3 separate regions of the Homo sapiens genome follow, and all the other regions are linked to region 2. The links are contacts of gene promoters, found by promoter capture Hi-C in human tissues and cell types (Jung and others, 2019). All regions are on one chromosome and are shown on one strand. Each heading gives the region's core, a stretch centred on a gene start or on the middle of the fragment in contact. The rest is flanking DNA. Distances are from core to core; before and after follow the strand shown. Region 1 overlaps IPO11 (importin 11). Region 2 holds the start of RNF180 (ring finger protein 180). Region 3 overlaps ADAMTS6 (ADAM metallopeptidase with thrombospondin type 1 motif 6).

Evidence for each region. Contacts are between HindIII fragments. The study calls those that stand out against the background at their distance.
Region 1: a contact is called between a fragment that was not itself captured here and the fragment with the promoter of RNF180 in region 2, in 1 of the 25 tissues and cell types used here (dorsolateral prefrontal cortex).
Region 3: a fragment that was not itself captured here is called in contact with the fragment with the promoter of RNF180 in region 2 in 1 of the 25 tissues and cell types used here (hippocampus).

Annotation. Positions count from the first base shown.
Region 1 is chr5:62,413,418-62,417,697 of GRCh38, forward strand. All of the region lies in intron 1 of IPO11 (importin 11), which reads left to right. Among named protein-coding and RNA genes, the nearest start is that of IPO11, 2.8 kb to the left of the region's middle. The HindIII fragment of the contact is 5,612 bases long and covers 129-4,280 here.
Region 2 is chr5:64,164,190-64,168,213 of GRCh38, forward strand. It overlaps RNF180 (ring finger protein 180), which reads left to right and starts at 1,654. Exons shown (of 8, transcript NM_001113561.2): 1 at 1,654-1,764. The HindIII fragment of the contact is 11,374 bases long and covers 1-4,024 here.
Region 3 is chr5:65,363,296-65,367,481 of GRCh38, forward strand. All of the region lies in intron 7 of ADAMTS6 (ADAM metallopeptidase with thrombospondin type 1 motif 6), which reads right to left. Among named protein-coding and RNA genes, the nearest start is that of ADAMTS6, 120 kb to the right of the region's middle. The HindIII fragment of the contact is 4,500 bases long and covers 471-4,186 here.

The DNA.
Region 1 (4,280 bases), core at 1,685-4,184, 1.7 Mb before region 2:
TTTATAGAGAGGAGCTTCATGGAGAGGTATGGCCGCCAATTCTCAAGCTCAGCGACTCCTGTAGATTTATATTTGGGGGTATTTGTGATTCAGCAAAACTACTTTTGCTTATTACGTGTGTCATTTTTTCTTTATTATTTTGTGACATGTTGGTGAATGAGAGAAGTACTATCTGAAAGTGATTTGACTAAATAGCAAGGACTGGTAAATTACCTACTAGTGCCAAGGTTGCAGTTGACATACCTCCTCCCCTCCATAATTTAAACGAGCTCAGTTGTAGCGCGGTAGTGCCCTTCAGATTTCGGTTATTCTTCAGAAGGAAGAATAGTTTGTAGCCATAATGCTTTTCCCCCTCCTGGGATAGGAATTTTCTTCCTCCATTTTCATGTTATTTCAAACTTCTCTGTTCAGTAGAGGAGCTTCAGATTAAGGGCAGGGTGACTCTTCTATAGGAGACATCCATTGCATGACACATATTACATCTTTCATCACTGAGGAAAATTTCGGTGAAAGTAGAAACATTTTCCCTTTTGGTTATGATGGGACTGGTATTTTCTCTGTTTCTGCAGTAACCTAGCACAGGGTATAGTAGAAACAATTAATTATAGTAGTGGCTTGTGGCCATATATTATAGTCTCAGGGTAGGAGGGTGGTCTCCGCCCTAGTTGAACTTCTAAGGCCAAAGAGAATTTTCACCACAAACACATTTGGCTGTGGTAATGTTAGAGGTTTTAAACAAATATGTAAAGATTATCTGATCATTAATAGAACAATTTTTAGATTTTGTGATGTTTGAATATATTTGCATTTGGAATCAAACCAGAATGCAGCATGATCCTTGTAGGCATGTGGCTATTAAAATACACTGAAGATTTTTCCAGAAACAAAATTTTTTTTTCTCAGCAATAAAAATATTCAAATTTTGGGTAAGGTAATGTTTGATTATTTGGATTTTGACCTTTGTGTTATATATTTGTACCTGTGTGTGTGTATGTATGTAACCTCACTTCTAATTTAGTGTTATTGATGGTAATATTTTTTCCTTTCTTTATCAGCTTCAAATAGGGACTGTTAATTTCAGAGCGTTTAAGGAATGGCAAAACACATTTAGTGCTGGTGTGAGTCTGTAGTGTGTTTGGTTTGCTGACTATCAGACTTATTACAGATAAGTCCACAGTTATAAGCTTTGTAGAGCTTAAGTTGCATCAGTGTTCTTTACCCTTGCTACTCAAATTGTGGTATATAGCATCACCTGGGAGTTTATTAGAAATGCATGATCTCAGGCTCAATCCAGAGCTGCTGAATCAAAATCTGCAATTTTAACAAGTTATCTAGATGAAAGGAATGTTCAATAAATCTTGAGATGCACTACTTTGGTTGGTAACAGTTGAAGAACACTGAGGTAATGCACAAACCGGTATAAAAATTTATAGCATCATTTATTTTAATCTGAGGTGATCTTATGCTGATTATCCAGTCTGATGAAACTGAGGCCCAGAAAGGTAAGTGCCTTGCATAAGGTCACACATACCTAGATTTATAACCCAGATTCCAACTCATTCCAGTGCTTTTCTTTTGCTGGTTACTGTCAGAGCTTGTTATATTAAAAACGGACTAAAATTCATGAATGACAATTAGGTGTTCATTCAATAACAAACGTCTATTGGGTACTGTACAGGCAGCCTAACAATCCTGTGTGTCCCTGCTAACTGCTCCTGTTTATCATGGTGGCTATTAACCCACCACCTTTCCTCTTTATTTTTTTTGAGGCGGGGTCTCACTGTCACCTAGGCTGGAGTGCAGTGGCGTGATCTCTGCTCACTGCATCTTCCGCCTCCCGGGTTCAAGCGGTTCTCCTGCCTCAGCCTCCAGAGTAGCTAGGATTACAGGTGCCTGCCACCAAGCCTGGCTAATTTTTGTATTTTTAGTAGACAGGGTTTCACCATTTTGGCCAGACTGGTCTTGAACTCCTGACCTCCCTGAACTCCACCCACCTTGGCCTCCCAAAGTGCTGGGATTACAGGAGTGAGCCCGGCCCCGTCTTTACTTTTTTTTTTTTTTTTTTTTTGAGATGGAGTTCTGCTCTTTTTGCCCAGGCTGGAGTGCAGTGGCGCGATCTCAATTCACTGCAACCTCCGCCTCCTGGGTTCAAGTGATTCTCCTGCCTCAGCCTCCTGAGTAGCTGGGATTACCGGCATGCACCGCCATGCCCAGCTAATTTTGTATTTTTAGTAGAGACGGGGTTTCTCCATGTTTGTCAGGCTGGTCTCGAACTCTCGACCTCAGGTGATCCCCCTGCCTCAGCCTCCCAAAGTGCTGGGATTACAGGCTTGAGCCACCACGCCCGGCCCCCTCTTTACTCTTTACTGGATAAAGTTCCCTTCTGCTTCATAGAGGAAATGAAATACATTGAGTGGGAACTTCATTGCTTTCTGTTCTGTTTCACCTGCAAACATGAAGACCTCTATCTGTCCATCTCTAATGATATTCTGAGTTTTTTCTCCTTACGGGCAATATTTCCTTCATGTGTTTGCTAGGGCCGCCACAACAAAATACCTTATATTGGGTAGCTTAAACAAGAGAATTTTTTTTCTCACAGTTCTGGAGAGTGGAAGTCTAAGATCAAGGTGCAGATAAGATTGGTTTCCTGTAAGACCTCCATCCTTGGCTTGCAGATGGCCACCTTCTTGCTGCCTTTTCTCGTGGTCATCCTGTGTGTACATGCACCTCTGCTGTATCTTTCTGTTTTCTTTTTTTTTCTTTTCTTTTTTTTTTTTTTTTTGAGACGGAGCCTCGCTCTTGTCTCCCAGGCTGGAGTGCAGTGGCCCGCTCTCAGGTCACTGCAACCTCCGCCTTCCCGGTTCAAGCGATTCTCCTGCCTCAGCCTCCTGAGTAGTTGGGATTACAGGCGCTCACCACCACGCCCGGCTAATTTTTATATTTTTAGTAGAGACGGGTTTCACCATGTTGTCCAGGCTGGTCTCAAACTCCTGACCTCAGGTGATCTGCCCGCCTCAGCCTCCCAAAGTGCTGGGATTACAGGCGTGAGCCACTGCACTGGCCTGCTGTTTCTTTTTCTTATAATGGCATCAGTTATATTGGTTTAGGGCCTTACCCTAACAACCTCATCTTATCTTAATCACCTTAAAAACTTTATCTCCAAATACTGAGGGTTCGGGGGTTAGGGCTTCAACATGAATTTTTAAGGAACACAGTTCAATCCATAACATTCAGTTACTCCTTTTTCAACTAGTACTAACTTAACAAGGATTTAAGCATACCCAAGTCTCTTATTATCTTTTTTTTTTTTTATTTTTTTTTTTTGAGACAGAGTACTCACTCTGTTTCTCAGGCTTGAGTGCAGTGGTGCTATCTTGGCTCACTGCAACTTCTGCCTCCCAGGCTCAAGCGATCCCTCCACCTCAGCCTCTCTGGTGGCTGGGACCACAGGTGAGGCGCAGGCCACCATGCTTGGCTAATTTTTGAATTTTTTTTTGTAGAGATGGGGTTTTGCCACATTGCCCAGGCTTGTCTCAAACTCCTGGGTTCAAGCGATCCACTGGCCTTGGCCTCCTGAAGTGTATTGGAATTATATGGGTGAGCCACCGTGCCTGGCCTCAAATCAAGTCTTATCTGAAATATACGCTCCTTACCTTAGATTCTTAGATTCCTCTTCAGCTTTATCTATAATTATTTTTCTTAGTTTTTTTTTTTCTCCTTTTTTTAAGAGACAAGGTCTCTTGTTACCTAGGCTGGCCTCAAACTTCAGGGCTCAAGTGATCCTGCCACTTCAATCTCATGAGTAGCTGGTACTACTTGTGTGTGCCACCATGCCCAGCTTATTTCCTTTAAGTTTCTTGAAAGAATTCTCTATATTCATTTTCTTCACCTCCTTATTGGTTAATTTTTTTTTTTTTTTTTTTTTTTTTTGGTATTTTGAAGGCTGACAGTCCATAGCAGTCACTGAATTTGATGTAGTGGTGATCACCATTGATATCTTTGTTGCTAAATCTAATGGAATCTGTTTAATCATTTGCCATTTTAACTACTTGTTCGTTCTTGAAATTTTCTTCTTATACTTCTGGGACACCATATTTTCCTTATTTCCTTCTTAGGTTTTAGCCAGTCTTTTGTTGGTTATTTTTCTCTTTTCTCTGACCACTTTAGATGTTTGACTCTGAGGCACTACCCTGCTCTCTTCTGAAAACCTTCAGATAAAAATCCAAACTACGTAGTTTAGGAAATAAGGACTTCAATGCACACTCTTCATGAATGGTCTC
Region 2 (4,024 bases), core at 404-2,903:
CTTCATCAATTTCAAAATTGGAAATCATTTTTTTCTCAGAATTTATCTTTTATTTATGTTTCTGTTGAGAATCCAATGCCATTCTGATTTCTAAATCTTCATAAATCACCTCCTATTTTTTCCTCCATGAAAGTTAAGATCTCTCTGACTCATGTGGTTTGAAATTTCACAACTTGGTTATAGAAAATTTTTATCCATTAAACTGAGAGCTCATGTGCTTCTGTCCTTTAGCTCTGAGAACTGTTGTCCTCGTTTTCTTTGGTAATTATCTTTCTTCTCTTTGTTCTACTAGCTGTTAGATATTCCACCTTTCCTTGCCTAACTGCCCTGGCTAGTGCCTCCACTATAATGTTGAATAGAAGTAGCAACAATTGACATCCTTGTCTTATTCCTGATTTTAGGTGAAAATGTTCATTCTTTCAAGATTAAGTATGATGTTAATTATGGATTTTTCAGAGGCTCTTTATTAGGTTGAAGAAGTTTCCTTTTATTCCTAGTTGAAGTGTTTATATCAAGAAAGGGTGTTAGATTTTGTCAATTGCTTTTCCTTCATCTTTTGAGATGATCATGTGGTTTTTACATTTAGTCTATTTAAAGTAGTGTGTTACATTAATTTTGTATGTCACACCAAACTTGCATTCCTGAGATAAATCCTACTTGGTCATGTTGTATAATTTTTTAAAATGTTGCTGGGTTTGGCTTGCTAGTATTTTGTTGAGGATTTTTATGTTACTATGCATAAGGTATATTGGTCTGTAGTTTTCTCGTGATGTCTTTCATTTTGTTCTTTATTTCCTTGTATTTCCAGATGGGAAGTCACTGCATACAGCCCTAATCTTAGGACAAGTTTCCAAGTAAGCCACTTCAGGCAAATAAAAATTTCTGTATCTAGCAGAGAAACAAAGCTGTATATTTTTTTTGAGGTTCCCTCCTAGCTCCCTTCCCTCTCCTCAAGCCAACTAATAAAACTTGCTTTTTATATTCCGAATCTTATTTATAGTCGTTTGATCATCTATGAGGCACCTGCAAGTCAACATTTACTGCACGCGGCCCCCTCACTCCCTAAATAAGCACTTTTGATTTACCGCCAGTCATCAACTCACCTCCCAACTGCAATTTGTCAAGAGTAGTGTCAGGTGCACTTTAGTGGTTAATCTCCTTGCACATCGGTGGAACTTTAGGCACAAGAAGGTAAGCAACGAAGATAGTGATATACGAAGGGAAAACTAAACCCAGGTAGCGTTGCCAGCTTAAAAGTCCTAGGCATGGGGATGGGTGGATGGGACGCCGGCCTAAGATTTTAGCAGGGAACAGACCCAGTAGTTGGCTTGGATCTCTTAACTCCAGAAAAGGCCGAGTGAGGACAAGGGAGACCACAGGGATAATTTCTGTGGCTCTGGTAAGGGGATGACAAGGGAGAAAAACTTTCCCACGGTTCCGTCTGGCCCGCGGCGCTTGTCTGCCTGCGCGGGGTCAAAGCCCGGCGCCGCCCACGCGCGGCTCGGGTGGGAACCCGCAGACGTGGGGCGAGCAGGGCCGCTGGCTGTGGCGGGCGAGCGCCGGGGCGCCACGTCCGAGGCCGCGGGGTCGGGGCTGCAGGCACAGCTCGAGCGCTTTCCGCGGGGTTTGGCTCCTGTCGCTTCCCGTCTCGCCGAACCGGCATCGCCGCCGCCGGAGCCGCAGCGAGTCCTCAGAGCCTGGCTGCTGGCGGCCGGGAGCGCCGGGACGGGGCGCGAAGCCGGAGGCTCCGGGACGTGGATACAGGTAAAGGCCGGCGGGTCGGAGTCGGGCGGGGCGCGGCGGCGGCGCCTCTCGGAGGGACCTGGCCTCGGCCGGGCCCTACCCAGCCGCGGTGGCCCGGGCCCCCACGTTGGCCCAGGCGGGGACGTGCCAAGGGGCTGGGCTAGGGTTGCCGCTGGCCTGGCCGCCTCTCGCCCGGCGGGCCTCAGGTGACGCGGCCGCGGCTTAACTTTCGCACCTGAGGCTCTCGGAGCGGCCTCGGGGCGCGCCCACCTGGAGGTTGGAATTACACAGGGTCGAAAAAGCTGAGTCCTGGAGGCGAGGCGCTGTAGGTGTGGCGGAGGAGGCCGGGGAAGGTGGGGTGGGTGCCAGGGGTCCAGTACTGAACCCTCTCCAGGTCTGAGGTGGGGAACTGCGTCTTGTTTAATTTCGGAGCTTGTGGGGACCACACAGCCCCTTCCACGGCCGATTCCCTCTGCACGGTTCCACTTTCCTTTGTCTAGCCCATTTCAGTATCGGCGTCGCAGTCGCTTTTGTTGCAGCCTTGGGTCCGGAGTGTACGACTTTCTGCTAGGCAGAGGTCATAAGCTCTGAAATCCATCGGGCGGAGGTGGGGAGATGGTCCTTTGGTGGGAAATTACTAGTGCTGTTATGAACACTAACACATATATTCCACCTTGTTTTTTTTCGAGATAGTGCTCATTATTTTCGTAGCATCTAACAGTTGTAAGTGTATCTGTGAGAGCATTCATTAGTTAACTTCAAAGGAGCATTATGCGGTCGGGTTACTATTATCCCATTTTATAGACCAGACAGCTGAGGCACCCAAGAGGCAAAGTGATTATATCAAAACTAAGCAGTCAATCCTTGTGGAATCTGTGATTAGAACTTGTCTGACTAGAGTTGTCCTTGGTCCAGTTGGTCTCTTAGTCTCAAACAAAATTTAGCTCTCAAAGATGGACGGTCTGATGCTCATTGTATTTTTATATACTCATTAATTGTTAAAACCTTTCTTAAAAAATAGAGTCAATTCCTTTCAGACTCCTGTTATAGTACCCCTAAAAGTGATACTTGAAAGATCATAAACACTTCAGTTTCAAATGAGTGGTATCATTTGAGTCGTAGAAAGAAGTAAAATTCCGTTGTCTTTTATCTGTCAGACTTTCGTCTCTTGTATAAATGTAGTGCCACTGGCAGCCCAAAGATACTTTGGTGACAATGGCAGAAACTCTAAATATTTATTTAATAAGTAGAATCGAGGAGGCGAGCTGTTAGGTTTCCCGGAATATTTGAGTAAGTTTTTTCTCATAAAGAATCAAAAATTTAGGAGAATAGTCATTTTAATTATTGTAATGAAAAATTATCTCGTAATTGTGTACGTGTTATGTTGTACTTTATCTCTCTGGAACCATCAACAATTTACCAGTTTCCCTAGGGTTTGCTCTTAGTTTTGTCAATGGTATTTTATTACCCCATTTTTCTTCCTCTCTTTCATTTTTTGTGTGTTTGGTTTTTCAAAGTGAAGATTTTTTCTTCGAAAATTCAAAAAATAATATTGAAAAAATCAACAAGATTTCTTTCTTGATAAAATAGACTTAATTAGCACTTTTTTGAGTGTGTCTGAGGACCGACACCAGCCTCTTTAATAAGCACCTCATACATGAAGCAGGAATTCTTCCAGGCAAGAATGCAATAAATTAATCATTTTAATATATTTCTGTAATATGACATAGCTACCTGAATGATAATGCTTTTTACTCTTACAATGTCTTTTTCATTAAGGAGCATAAAGATTAAAAATTTCGCTTAAATTTTGCTAACTACATAGTACAAGGGGACAGTGTGCTTAGACTTAATTGTTGCTTTCATGGAATAAACACAGTTCTCTCTCCCTTATACCACCTCCATTTGGCCATCTGAAAAAAGAATGGTGATGTGTCCTTTCCTTCATAGGGATATTTGGGGAATTAATGAAGTAATATCTCGAAAGTAGTTTGAACTCCACGGAAGAAAGCAGCTTTGTAACTTTGAAATGTGATTGCAGAGTCTTGAAACATTTTCCCTCCTTAAACGTGCTGTCGTTTATATTTTTAGAGAGTGGTCATTCCAAGTAGTCACCTCAGGAGGCTAAAAACTTATTCCAGTAGTGCTGCTGCCATTCATAATTATTTTGTATTTTTTGAAATTTCTAGTCAATTTACAAGCAAAATAAAAACATTTCATGATAACATTCATAAACACTTGTTTTTGTTTCTATTTTTTAATCAAAAAACTAATTCAGCTT
Region 3 (4,186 bases), core at 1,471-3,970, 1.2 Mb after region 2:
TACTTTTAGGTTAATATGATAACATACTAAAATGGTTTAATCTACGACCAGCAAGGTTGTAACAATAGCTTCACACCCCTTTTGTGCTACAAAAATTACACATCCCTTATGCATAGACTGAAAATAATGCTATGCTGGCATTTTAAAATTAGCATTAGAAAAGTAAAAGCAAATGTTATCATTAACATAAATTTGAAAAATCTTTACCTTTTCATCCCAAAATGGTACTTTCTGGTATCAAAGAAAACATTTACTTTTAATTCATTTCAGACCAATATTTATTCTTCTTTTTGGCAACGAGTGTTTCAACATCTTGAAAATGCATTTAAGCTTACTCCTTTCATCAGCTCTAAAATGGGGTTATGCATAATCCACTAAATGCAAATAATTTTTGGAAGCATTGCTTAGTGGACTTCTAGGCTGTGTAACATATTCAATTAAGAATAAGAGACTTTTAAATAATCTTTAGGGAAAACTACCAGCCAAACAACACAATGTTCACGGTAAGAAAATTATCTTTGGGATTTAGAATTTCAAATCAAAATAAATCACCAACTATTCAAAAAGAATGATTTTCTGTATCAAATAGAAATGTTAATGTTGTGAAAAGCTTGTGCCTAACTATAAATCATTTAAAGATAATCCCAGGATATTTAATTTGATCTAAGCCATAACTTAAAATTCTCAGAGCCAACTGAGAACTATCTTCACAATCTATTTTGAATTTAGAAAAACTGAAGCACAAAAATCACATGAAGATTTGATAAGGACTCTAGTGTCCTGAACTCCTGTCACCTGGCCAAACGCAGTTCATCCATCTAAAAAGCCAACTGCTCTGTGTTTGAAGGGGGCAAAACTACCCTCAATTTGACTGCAGGATATGGCTCTCTCTTCAAATATTGATTGAAAGGTTTTTGGCTAAGTACAAGGACTATTTTTCCCTGGAGAAACTGCAGCTGTGACAGTTGACCTCAGCCTTTTAAGACGAAAAGATTCTCTCTGGGAAAATGACTTACTGATTATCAGAGTTAGCCAGAATAAAAGAGCTCAATCTTCAGAGCTCTTTCATTAAACAACTCTCTTTCAATATTCTTAAAATATCATGGAGTATCATCATGTTGCACAACACCAGAGGATAACATAAAGAATACAATATGAGTATGCCCCCTGGAGTTTTGAAACACAGCGCTGGTAACACTATCATCAGTAAAGCTTTCCTGCTGCCTTTTGTTAAGTTATTGACTATGGAATCCTGAATGAATTTCTTTCTTTTTTTTTTTTTTTTTTTTGGGACAGAGCCTTGCTCTGTCGCCCAGGCTGGAGTGCAGTGGCGCAATCTCGGCTCACTGTAAGCTCCGCCTCCTGGGTTCATGCCATTCTTCTGCCTCAGCCTCCTGAGTAGCTGGGACTACAGGCGCCCGTCACTGCGCCCAGCTAATTTTTGGTAGTTTTAGTAGAGACGGGGTTTCATCGTGTTAGCCAGGATGGTCTCGATCTCCTGACCTCGTGATCTGCCCGCCTCAGCCTCCCAAAGTGCTGGGATTACAGGCTTGAGTCACTGCGCCTGGCCTGCCTGATTGAATTTCTTACAGGCTACTTATTATAGATATGATGCTCAAATCAGATCAACTTACGAGGTTATAGATCTTGCCAGACTAATGAAGATCTGCATCATTTATAACCTAACACCACTTATTTCTTTCCTTTTAAAAGAGGTTTTGCTTGCTCAAGGCCCAGGCAGAGAGGAACTACTTAACTTGTACTGAAACCAAAACAACTGATCATCCACAGTAAACAGTATGATGTCATCCACGGTAAACAGTATGATGTGGCAGAAAGACCACTGCAATCAGGAGATCTATCATTTGTTAATTATATACTCCAGATCACTCATCTGGAGTATACAGACAATACCAAGATTAGGGACAATAATATGTCTTAATAATTCCATAGAATTATGCTAATCAAGTAATAAAAAACCAAACTACTCATAAGCTGAAGCATAGTATTCACAAATGATTTTGCAAGTGGGCAAACTTAGAAAATACTTCTCAATATTAACTGAACAGGCTGGGCACAGTGGCTCACACCTGTAATCCAAGCACTTTGGGAGGCCAAGGCAGGCAGATCACCTGAGGTCAGGAGTTTGAGATCAGCTTGGCCAACATGGTGAAACCCCATCTCTACTAAAAACACAAAAAATTAGCCAGTCATGGTGGCACATGCCTGTAATCTCAGTTACTTGGGAGGCTGAGGCAAGAGAATCACTTGAACCTGGGAGGCGGAGGTTTCAGTGAGCGGAGATCATGCCATTGCACTCCAGCCTGGGCAACAGAGTGAGACTCTGTTTCAAAAAAAAAAAAAAAAATTAACTGAACAAGGAGCAATATTCAATAAATTATTTGGAACAGAATTTCTAAGGGACTAGGAACCCTGTTATAAGGACCCTATTTAGTATATCTTTTATAGATGGTCACATTTTTATGTAAAATTAGCTCGAATACAAACTATAAAACATCCTATATAAGCTCTTATTTTACAAAGTAAAATGTGTCTTTGCCTGCCAATTGTTTCACTTGAGTACATGCTTTTCAGCACTTTACAGATTTAATACATCTATAGTTCCAGGAAATGAGCATTTATTTCTATATAATCAAATGCTAAGAGATAAGTTTCTGGTTCTGTTTTTGAACTTTATAATCATTAAATAAAACAAAAAAAAAAATCTCTTTTGGTACCATAGGTACAAAGTCATTGAATAAAACCCCCAAAACAAAAATCCATTTGTTCTGGGTTTAAAACCAATCATTGCATCAGATCTCAGAGAAACTTGTTTTTAAAACTAACCTGAAGCAAACACACCTAACCTGATAAATGCAACCTCCTAAGGGACAAAGGAATGTAATAACTTTAGTTTTAGATAAAGGTAGAAGTAAAAATTATGCTTCAGAGAATCCTATATAAAATATTTTAAGTTATTTACTAATGGTAATGGTAAAAAAATGTTGGCAGGTCTTATAAAAGTACTATCTATAACATTTTCATTCCGACAATGTCTTAAAATAGTCAAAGAAAAAGAACAATGGGAAGGAAAAGAAAATATTTAATATAGAATTCTACCAAAATCTACCAATGATATTTGAATCCAACCAAGACCAGAAACACTTGAACCAAGAAGTTAGTCACAATGCCCCTGGTAGCTGAGTAAAATGGTGCTTAAACTGTTACTAATTTTTTTAGCCTTGTAGATTTTCACTCCAAAAATTCTAATTCTACTATATAAGATGTGTGGGACCATCACATAGTGTGTTCATTATAATCTAATTTCATAAAAATCAATGCTCCTAAAGCTATCATCTTGCTGACCCCAGATTCTTACTAACTGTTCATAGATTTAAAGTTCAGATTATTCTAAGTATTAAATCAGTAAAATCTAAATTCAATCCATCTGACTGCTGTTCTTGCAGTAAATACACACTCCAGAGGATACCCTCCCGCCACCACCCCCTGCCATGTTCAGTAGTAGAGCTGCTCTGTTCTATAAATACTGTTGCTTCTGGATGACTTTCAGGGAAAGGCCAAAAGAAAATAAATTTTAGCAGTCTATCCAAGAGGCAAGGAGGCATGGATAACAACCAAGACAGACTCTGTGCTTTCTGAGCTCTCATTCCAAGAAAAAGAATGATGCGGGGGGTGGGGAGACTTTTTAAATAAAAGCCAGTTATTTTATGAGACAGGACAAGGGAATCAAGAATTATGCATTACATCAGAATCCTTAAAAAATTAGAGATAATCATGGAGCTGTACTGAAATGAATATTCCCATGATCAAATTGAATTAAAAACTAAAAAACTGAATAACAGCTCACTATTCCTCTTTAGTATTCGGCATACACAGGATGCTGTTACAAATAAGTGACTGAAACAGAATTAACTTAATATTTTTGGAGGTGGGAGGAGTCTCAAGTGGAGCTTCCATATTAATCTTAAAAGAGCATTCTTTATCCTGAGCTAGAATAAATCATCTTTAATACTCCAACCCTAGAGCCTTGAGAACACATATGGGTACAATATTGCACTTACCATGGGTAATATTCCTAAAAAGTAAGATGTAAAACTAAAATTTATAAGTTAAATCTGATTTTCCCAAGATACAATTAAGTTTGGAGAATTTATTTCTCAACTGC